Regions from separate parts of the Homo sapiens genome. Here region 1 is linked to region 2. The links are contacts of gene promoters, found by promoter capture Hi-C in human tissues and cell types (Jung and others, 2019). All regions are on one chromosome and are shown on one strand. Each heading gives the region's core, a stretch centred on a gene start or on the middle of the fragment in contact. The rest is flanking DNA. Distances are from core to core; before and after follow the strand shown. Region 1 has its middle 19 kb from the start of POP5. Region 2 holds the start of CABP1 (calcium binding protein 1).

Region 1 (4,136 bases), core at 384-2,883, 39 kb after region 2:
CTATCACTTACTATTCCTACCCCCATTACTACTAGCAGGGAAGAGGTCCGATATCCTCCATTTGCCCATCTGGGGCACTTCCCCAGCCTGCCGTGTGCCCAAGGAGACTCAGCTGTTCAGACTCAACAGCCTTCCATATCCCCTGGCTTCTAATCTGGTTTGGGCAAGGAGGAGCCCCCGGGAGGAGACTGAAGGGAGAAGGTGGAGTGACTCAGGGTATTTATGCAACTGCTTCCTCCTGAAGGGCACCTCAGGCTGGTTAACAGAAGGTCACAGCTTCTCTTTTTTTTTTCTTTCTTTTTTTTTTTTTTTTTTAGACAGAGTCTTGCTCTGTCACCCAGGCTGGAGGGCAGTGGCGCAACCTTGGCTCATTGCAACCTCCACCTCCTAGGTTCAAGCGATTCTCCTGCCTCAGCCTCCTGAATAGCTGGGACTACAGGCACGTGCCACCACGCCTGGCTAATTTTGTATTTTCAGTAGAGACAGGGTTTCACCATGTTGGCCAGGCTGGTCTCGAACTCCTGATGTCGAGTGATCCACCTACCTCGGCCTCCCAGATTACAGGCATGAGCCACCTCATCTGGCCAACAGCTTCTCTTAAAGTGACCCTCTCCACATAACTTTCTGGCTAGTGGGAACTGCTCCTGCCATGCCTAAGGAGGTAACAGCCCTCCCATTGTAACCAGTCTCGGCACTGCACTGTCTCCTGCGATTTCTGTACACCCTGTCCACATCTAAATGATCCCTTTAGTCAGCCTTCCTTAAGTCACCCAGTTTGAGCTTGCCATCTGTTTCCCACTGGGACTGATGGCCACCCCAATTTAGGAGCCCCTATTTGGCCAGGCGTGGTGGCTCATGCCTGTAATCCCAGCACTTTTGAGAGGCTGAAGCAGGAGGATCCCTTGAGCCCAGGGGTTTGAGACCAGCCTGGGCAATAGAGCGAGACCTCATCTCTTTTTTTTTTTTTTTTTTTTTTTGAGACGGAGTTTCGTTCTTGTTGCCCAGGCTGGAGTGCAATGGCGCGATCTCAGCTCACTGCAACCTCCGCCTCCTGGGTTCAAGCAATTCTCCTGCCTCAGCCTCCCAAGTAGCTGGGATTACAGGCATGCGCCACCACGCCCAGCTAATTTTGTATTTTTTAGTAGCAACGGGGTTTCTCCATGTTGGTCAGGCTGGTCTCAAACTCCCGACCTCAAGTGATCCGCCCGCCTCGGCCTCCCAAAGTGCTGGGATTACAGGCGTGAGCCACCGCGCCCGGCCTTGAGACCTCATCTCTACAAAACATAAACAAAATTAGTTGGGCGTGGTGGCAACTGCCTGTAGTCTCATCTACTCTGGAGGCTGAAGTAAGAGGATCGATGGAGCCCAGGAGGTAGAGGCTGCAGTGAGCTAACAAAAAAAAAAAAAGGAGAACCCCTACTTTAGAGAAGGAAATGGAAATTCAAAGAGGAGCAAATGGGAAACCAACAGGGGCCACCTGGGGGTGTGCTCAGCAGCCAATAGGCACTAGTGGATGCTTGATAAATATCTGAATTAATGAGTGAATGAATGACTTGCTGTCACTGGGAAGGACCCACCTGCCCTTACCATAGGTGCTGGAACAGCAGGTCAGTATCTGAGCTACTTCAGCCCGACACTGGTGACCAGTTCCCTCGCCCAGCCCAGAGTCTTAAGCTTCAGGAAGTTTTGCATTGGAAGGATTAACACACAGCCCGGGACACCCAGGAAGCAGCCCCCAAGCTCAGTGAGAGACTCAAGAGTTATTTTTGAAAAGCAAGCAAGGCCTGCAGGCGGCCCTGGCAGAGGCAGAACGCAGAGCTGGAAAGAAGAGCCAGGAGCAGAGAGAGAACAGACAGCTACCACAGAACCCACGCCCCACGCCTGTGACGTGGGCCCCACGCACGGCGACATAACATGGTGGCAGAGGCGGGGAGGCGTCCTGTGACCCCTTGGGAATTTTATTTTAATTGTGGTAAAATATACATCACATAAAATGCATCCTTGGGAGTTTTTACTGCTCCCGCCCCAGGCTGAATGACATTGAGGACTGGGTTCCCACAGGAACAGGGAGTGGGAACACCAGCCAAACCCATTTGCATCCAAATGGTGTGTGAGCTTTTGCTCAAGTCTGGGAAAATCCTGGAACTGGAGGGAGGGTCATTGCTCTGAGGCAAAGTTGGGGTCTGAGGATTAGGACACAGGTGACAAAATTAACATTAGCGGTGCATGGTGGCACATGCCTATAGTCCCAGCTACTCGGGAGGCTGAGGCAGGAGAATCGCTTGAACCTGGGGGGTGGCAGTTGCAGTGAGCAGAGATCGCGCCACTGCACTCCAGCCTGAGCAACAGAGCGAGACTCCGTCTCAAAAAATAAAAAATTAAAATGGTAATTAAAAAAAGAAACAGTTAACAGCCTCTATCCCTGCAAAATAGTGGGGTGGCAGGAGTGGCTGTGGGGTCCGGGAGGAGGGGAGCAGGTGCTGGCCCTCGAGGTAGGGCGGGGAACTGCGGGCACGGAAAGCAGCAGCCGAGCAGCAGAATGCGGCTAATGAGCCGTGCAGGTGAAGGGAGAGGTGTCTGCAACGGGGTGGAGGTCACAGGCAGCCAGAGGGAGCCATCAAGGCCCCAAAATAACTCCTGCTTCTGCAGGAGAAACTGGAACTAATCAAGGTGGGAATAATCCGAAAATCCCTCAGAGAGGGACTGCTAAGAGGCCTTGTGTTTCCAAGCAGGGATTAGAGGGGAAGAAAATAAACAAAAGATGGAGTTTGTCCTGGAAAACGGTGCCAACATGAAAGCAAGTTCTTCCTAGGGCCTTGGTCAGAGGGCCACCAGTAGCTAATATCCATTGAGCGCCTACTATTGTATGCCTGATGCATTCATATGGCTAAGCATGTGAGCTCTGAAGTCGGCCTGCCTGGATTGGAATTCCTGCTCTACTTCCTGCTAGCTGTGTGACCTCCGAAGAGTTATTTCCCCATTCTGAGCCTCAGTTTCCTTATCTGGAAAATGGGGATAAAATTCATACCTGCCCCGCAGGGTAGTTGAGGATAAGTGCTCGATACATGTGAACTTTTATTATAATAGAAATATTTCCAGGGGCTCATTTCCTGGGATTGCCGGTGGCTCATACCTGTAATCCCGGCACTTTGGGAGGCCGAGGTGAGTGGATCACCTGAGATCAGGAGTTGGAGACCAGCCTGGCCAACATGGCAAAACCCCATCTCTACTAAAAATACAAAAATCAGCCAGGTGTGGTCTCAGGTGCCGGTAGTCCCAGCTACTTGGGAGGCTGAGACATAAGAATTGCTTGTACCCGGGAGACGGAGGTTGCAGTGAGCTGAGATTCACTGTGACTCCAGCCTGGGTGACAGAGACTGTCTCAAGAAACAAAACAAAACAAAACAAAACAAATCTTTCCAGCAATGCTGGAGGAAGAGGGTTAGGTTTTGTCTCCTCTTTCTGCAGGGTAGTGAACCAAGGCTCAGAGAGCCCAAGGTCACATGGCTAATAAGTGAAAGTGTCAGGATGGTGACTCATGTGAGTCTAAGTCAGGAGCATGTGAATTCACTAGCCCGGGCCACCCTGCTCGCTCCTCAGTGGGCAGGGAGGAGGGCAGTGGCCCACAGGCAGGGCGCAGCCCCTCACCCACCGCCTCTCTCTGGGCCCCATGCTGGGAGCAGATACAGCATGCACGTGGGAAACAGTCTCCGGGTGAGACATGTACAGTGGAGAGGGACGAGCACTGCCCTTGAGCATGGAAACTTGGCTGAGTTCTTTCCTCTCTCTGGGCCTCAGTTTCCCCAGTTGCAGAACAAGTGGTGGTAACAGGTGACTCGAGTCCTGGAGAGTCTAGATTCTTGCTCCCTGGTTCTCTGGTGAGTATCCGGTGCAGGCAGCAGTGAAACGAGGACAAGAGAGGAACCTGGGCCACTGCCAGGTGATCTCCCCTTTGTCACTTCCCTCCCTTCTCCTGGTGAATAGTTCCAGGCAGAGGGAACAGCAAAAGCAAAGGTCGGGAAATGAGAGTGAGCATGGCACGTTTGGGGAGCTACAAGTAGAAGAATCCAGTCACCCGGTTTATTCATTTATTCAATTAGTTAATCAACATTTAGTAACCTGGTTTACTCATTTGA
Region 2 (3,730 bases), core at 936-3,435:
TTTCCTTAATAAATGCTCAAGAAATAATTGATAAATGAATGAATTGGTATCACCCATTCAACAACCCAGCATTCCTGCTGCAACCCAGCCCCAATCCAAAGACCACTCGTGCCCTGGCAGCCTACACCTCCTCATTAACACAAAGCACTGCAGTGAACTCCCCTGACACATCGCCTCACTAACTCTCACGGCTCTGCATCCACATCTCTACTCCAGAGAACTGTTTCCAGCTAACTCGGCTAACGAGGGCTCCCTGCAGGAACAAAGCCACACACCACTGCCCTATGGCCCCACCACAGCAGCACCACGCAACCCAAATCCATGTGCGGCTGCCTTCATGTCAGACCTCCACCAGCATCAGCCACTGCCGAGTAGTATTTTGAAAAGAAATGTGCAGATCTGAAGCAAAACACACAGGGCCTCCTTGGAATTCTGATCCGGCGTGGCAAGCCAGGAGCTTGAAACAGCTTCTTTATGCTAGATCTCAGCACAGAAAGGCACAGCCCCCCCTGTTTCCCTACAAACCACGCAAACGCTCTAATCAGACCTCTGCATGACACCTCTCGGAGGCTGCCACAGAACTGTCTCAAAGCTGTGCCAATGAGTTTGACTTGATTACAGACTCCGAACTAGGGGAAACCCTGGCTTTTTTGCTCAGGAGTTCAGAGGTTTCCTTCTACTGAGCCTGTTTCCCCAGCAGCACAGCCTCAAACTGTAGACCTATATTGTGACTACGGAGCTGCTTTTAAAGGGCAGGCTCCCAGGTGCCTGGGACTCTTGAGGGAAAGGCCTGAGGGAACCACTGATGACCTCTTTGTGGCCTTTCTCACCCTTCCAATGGCATCCCTAGAGTGACAGCCTCCTTAAACCACCCCAAAGTTCCAGTTTGAGCCACAGCTCTGCATGCCCCTCCATGCCTACCCAGACACCTCTTCTCTTTCCTCATATTTTTGGATCTCCTAACTTTTCTCAGGCCTTCAGGGACATGATAGGCAGTGGCCAGTGTCCCTCGCCCTCAAGTAATTCTGTGTTCTCTGAGGTCCCCTCTCTTGACCCCCAGACTCCAAACCGCTTGCTCTCCTGAGTCCCTCCCTGGCGGTACTGGCCAGAGGCCAGAGGAGTGGGTTTGGCGCCACCTGCTCGGAGCGCCCCTCCTTGACCCCCGCAAATCTCCAGGACGGTCGTAGAGGTCGCTCTCTTCCAGGACTGGCGGGTTCTGGCGGGTATGAGGGAGGCTAGCGGGGAGGGCCTTGCCCCAAGAGGCCCGGAGCGTGGACAGCGCACGGGGTGCTGAATCAGGCACGGGGAGGAGGAGTGCCGGCAAGGGCGCCGGCCCGGGGAGGACGAGGTGAGCCGAGGCGTGATCCGTGGGGGACCACGGGCCGCGGGAGGAGGCTGTGGACGCGCAACCGCGGCCGGCAGGGTCCCGAGCGCCTTTCCCGGGAGCGCTGACGGGAGGCGCGGCCCTTACCTGGCCAAAGGCGGAGCTGAGCATGGGGCGCAGCCGGTGGAGGAACGGGTCCGCCTCGGACGCGGCGGCTGGAACGGAGTCCCCGCGGCCCCGGGCTCGCAGAGAGCCCCGGAGGCCGAGCGCCGGGGACAGTCCCCGTTCCTCCCCATCCCGCCCGCGGGCCGGCGGCAGCGGCGACGACGGCGAAGGTCGGGACGCCGCGGCCGGCAGCGCCTCCCGGGGCCTGCAGTGCGCCTGGGGGAGCACACGCTGGCTCCCCCGCGCGCCCTCCTCTCGCGGCGCCGGCCGGCACAGGGGCCTCCGCGAACTGGGGTCCCCGGACGACTGCGGCGTCGCCGGGCAGGAGCCGGGTAGCCGGCGGCTAGGCAGCCCCGGGTCCCGGGCAGGGCCGTGGCGGGGAGCCCGGCTGCCCCCGCTCGCCGCCGCCGCCGCCGCCTTCAGCAGCGACGTCTTGGACTCGCTTTTGGCGATGTGCGAGCTCATCGCGGCGGGGCCCGCGCTCGCATGGCCCGGCGGGGGCGGCGCGGTGCGGCGCGGCGCGGGGCCCCCGGCGGGCAGAGAACGGGGCTCCCGGCGGGAGCCAAGCCCGAGGACGCGCTGGAGGCGGGCGCCGTCCCCCGGCCGCTTAAATGCGGCCCCGTCGCCGCCGCCCATGTGACAGCGCAGCCTCTACGCCCGGAGCCCGGAGCTCCCGGCGGCTGGCGGTGCAGATCTGGGGGCGCTGCCGGCTGTCCCCGGAGAGCCCACCCCCGGCTCCCTGGCGGCCCAGGTACCGCCGCGCCCCGCCCCTTGCCCCGCCCCGCCCTGGGGGAGCCCCGCTTCCGGGCGGCCCCTGGCGGCGAAGGGGACGCTGCAACGCGGAGCGGGAGCACGAGGAGGGAAGGGGCTTGGCAATGGGCCCCAAAGAGGCCGAGACCCCGGGAGTGCCGGCAGCGCTCTTTATCACGCCTGGAGGCTCCTGCAGAGCCCCGGAACCGCCCGAACCTCCAGAAATGCAGGCAGGGTGCACTCCCCAGGGGGTACAACTTTGGCAATGAGGACTACAGAGGTCCGGGGAGAACCGGAGACCCGAGGAGCATGAAGGCACTCTGTGACATCACTGCCTACAAACGCAGGGGCCGGAATGCAGTGACAGGACACTGCTGGGAGGAAAGTCTCCCAGCGCCTCCGTGTGGGGCTGCCTCCACTCCCAATACCGTGCGGGGGGACTAGGACGACCCTGGTAAGTCAGCCACAGGATATCAGTTCTCAGAATAGAAGAGAAGCCAGGTCTGGCAGCACCTGATGATGGTAAGTCTCAGGTAGGACCCATTTGCTCCCCCTCCAGCTCTTGTCCCCTCTTTCACCTTCCTGCCTTTCTAGATGCTACAGAAATTCCTGCTCTCGGTGGGCAGCCAGGGAGCGTCCCAGGCCTTATCTGAATCTCAAATCCCAGCTCTGCCACCTACCATCTGGGTAACTTGGGCAGGTGTCATCAACCTCTCTGAGCCTTGTTCTCCTCTTCTGTAAAATGCAGATGATAAGCATAACTAATTTCTTGGTAACAGCAGACGATACTATGCACACAAAAGGCCTAGCCCAGTGCTCGGACAGGGGACCATCCAGTTAAGCCAGTTCCCTTCCCCCTGCACATCGTGAGGCCCCATCTACCATTCTTCTTTAGTATCCGGTGCTTGAGCTTTGCGGGGGGCTGGAGGGGTTCCTCCCAGGCTCTCCCTGTTCTGGTCCCTGGCCCCAATGCCATCCACAGTCTTGTCACCGCTCGGCCTCATTAAAAGGATACACGAGGCCGGGCACAGTGGCTCGCACCTGTAATCCCAGCACTTTGGGAGGCCAAGACCGGCGGATCACTTGAGGTCAGGAGTTCGAGACCAGCCTGGCCAACATGGTGAAACCCTGTCTCTACTAAAAATACAAAAATTAGCCAGGCGTGGTGGTGGGCGCCTGTAATCCCAGCCACTTGTAGGCATGAGAATAACTTGAACCCGGGAAGTGAAAGTTGCAGTGAGCCGAGATTGGGTCACTACACTCCAGCCTGGGCAACAGAGTGAGACCCTGTCTCAAAAAAAAAAAAAAAAAAAAAAAAAAAGAAGGGTACACAAACAGATTGCCGATATTACACTTCACTCATGCCAAGAGTTCATCCTTCTCTGCACTGTCTGCTTCTTTACAGAGTGTTGCTCTGTCACCAGGCTGGAGTGCAGTGGCACGATCTCGGCTCACTGCAACCTCTGCCCCCCAGGTTCAAGCGATTCTCCT

The links. Contacts are between HindIII fragments. The study calls those that stand out against the background at their distance.
Region 1: a fragment that was not itself captured here is called in contact with the fragment with the promoter of CABP1 in region 2 in 1 of the 25 tissues and cell types used here (heart right ventricle).

What each region holds. Positions count from the first base shown.
Region 1 is chr12:120,598,732-120,602,867 of GRCh38, reverse strand. No RefSeq gene overlaps it. Among named protein-coding and RNA genes, the nearest start is that of POP5, 19 kb to the right of the region's middle. The HindIII fragment of the contact is 9,311 bases long and covers 1-4,136 here.
Region 2 is chr12:120,639,081-120,642,810 of GRCh38, reverse strand. CABP1 (calcium binding protein 1) reads right to left here and starts at 2,185. Exons shown (of 6, transcript NM_001033677.2): 1 at 1,472-2,185. The coding sequence starts at 2,125. It overlaps CABP1-DT (CABP1 divergent transcript), which reads left to right and starts at 2,289. Exons shown (of 2, transcript NR_183426.1): 1 at 2,289-2,761. RefSeq lists silencers at 1,206-1,305, 1,526-1,695, 1,706-1,805, 2,026-2,325. The HindIII fragment of the contact is 37,846 bases long and covers 1-3,730 here.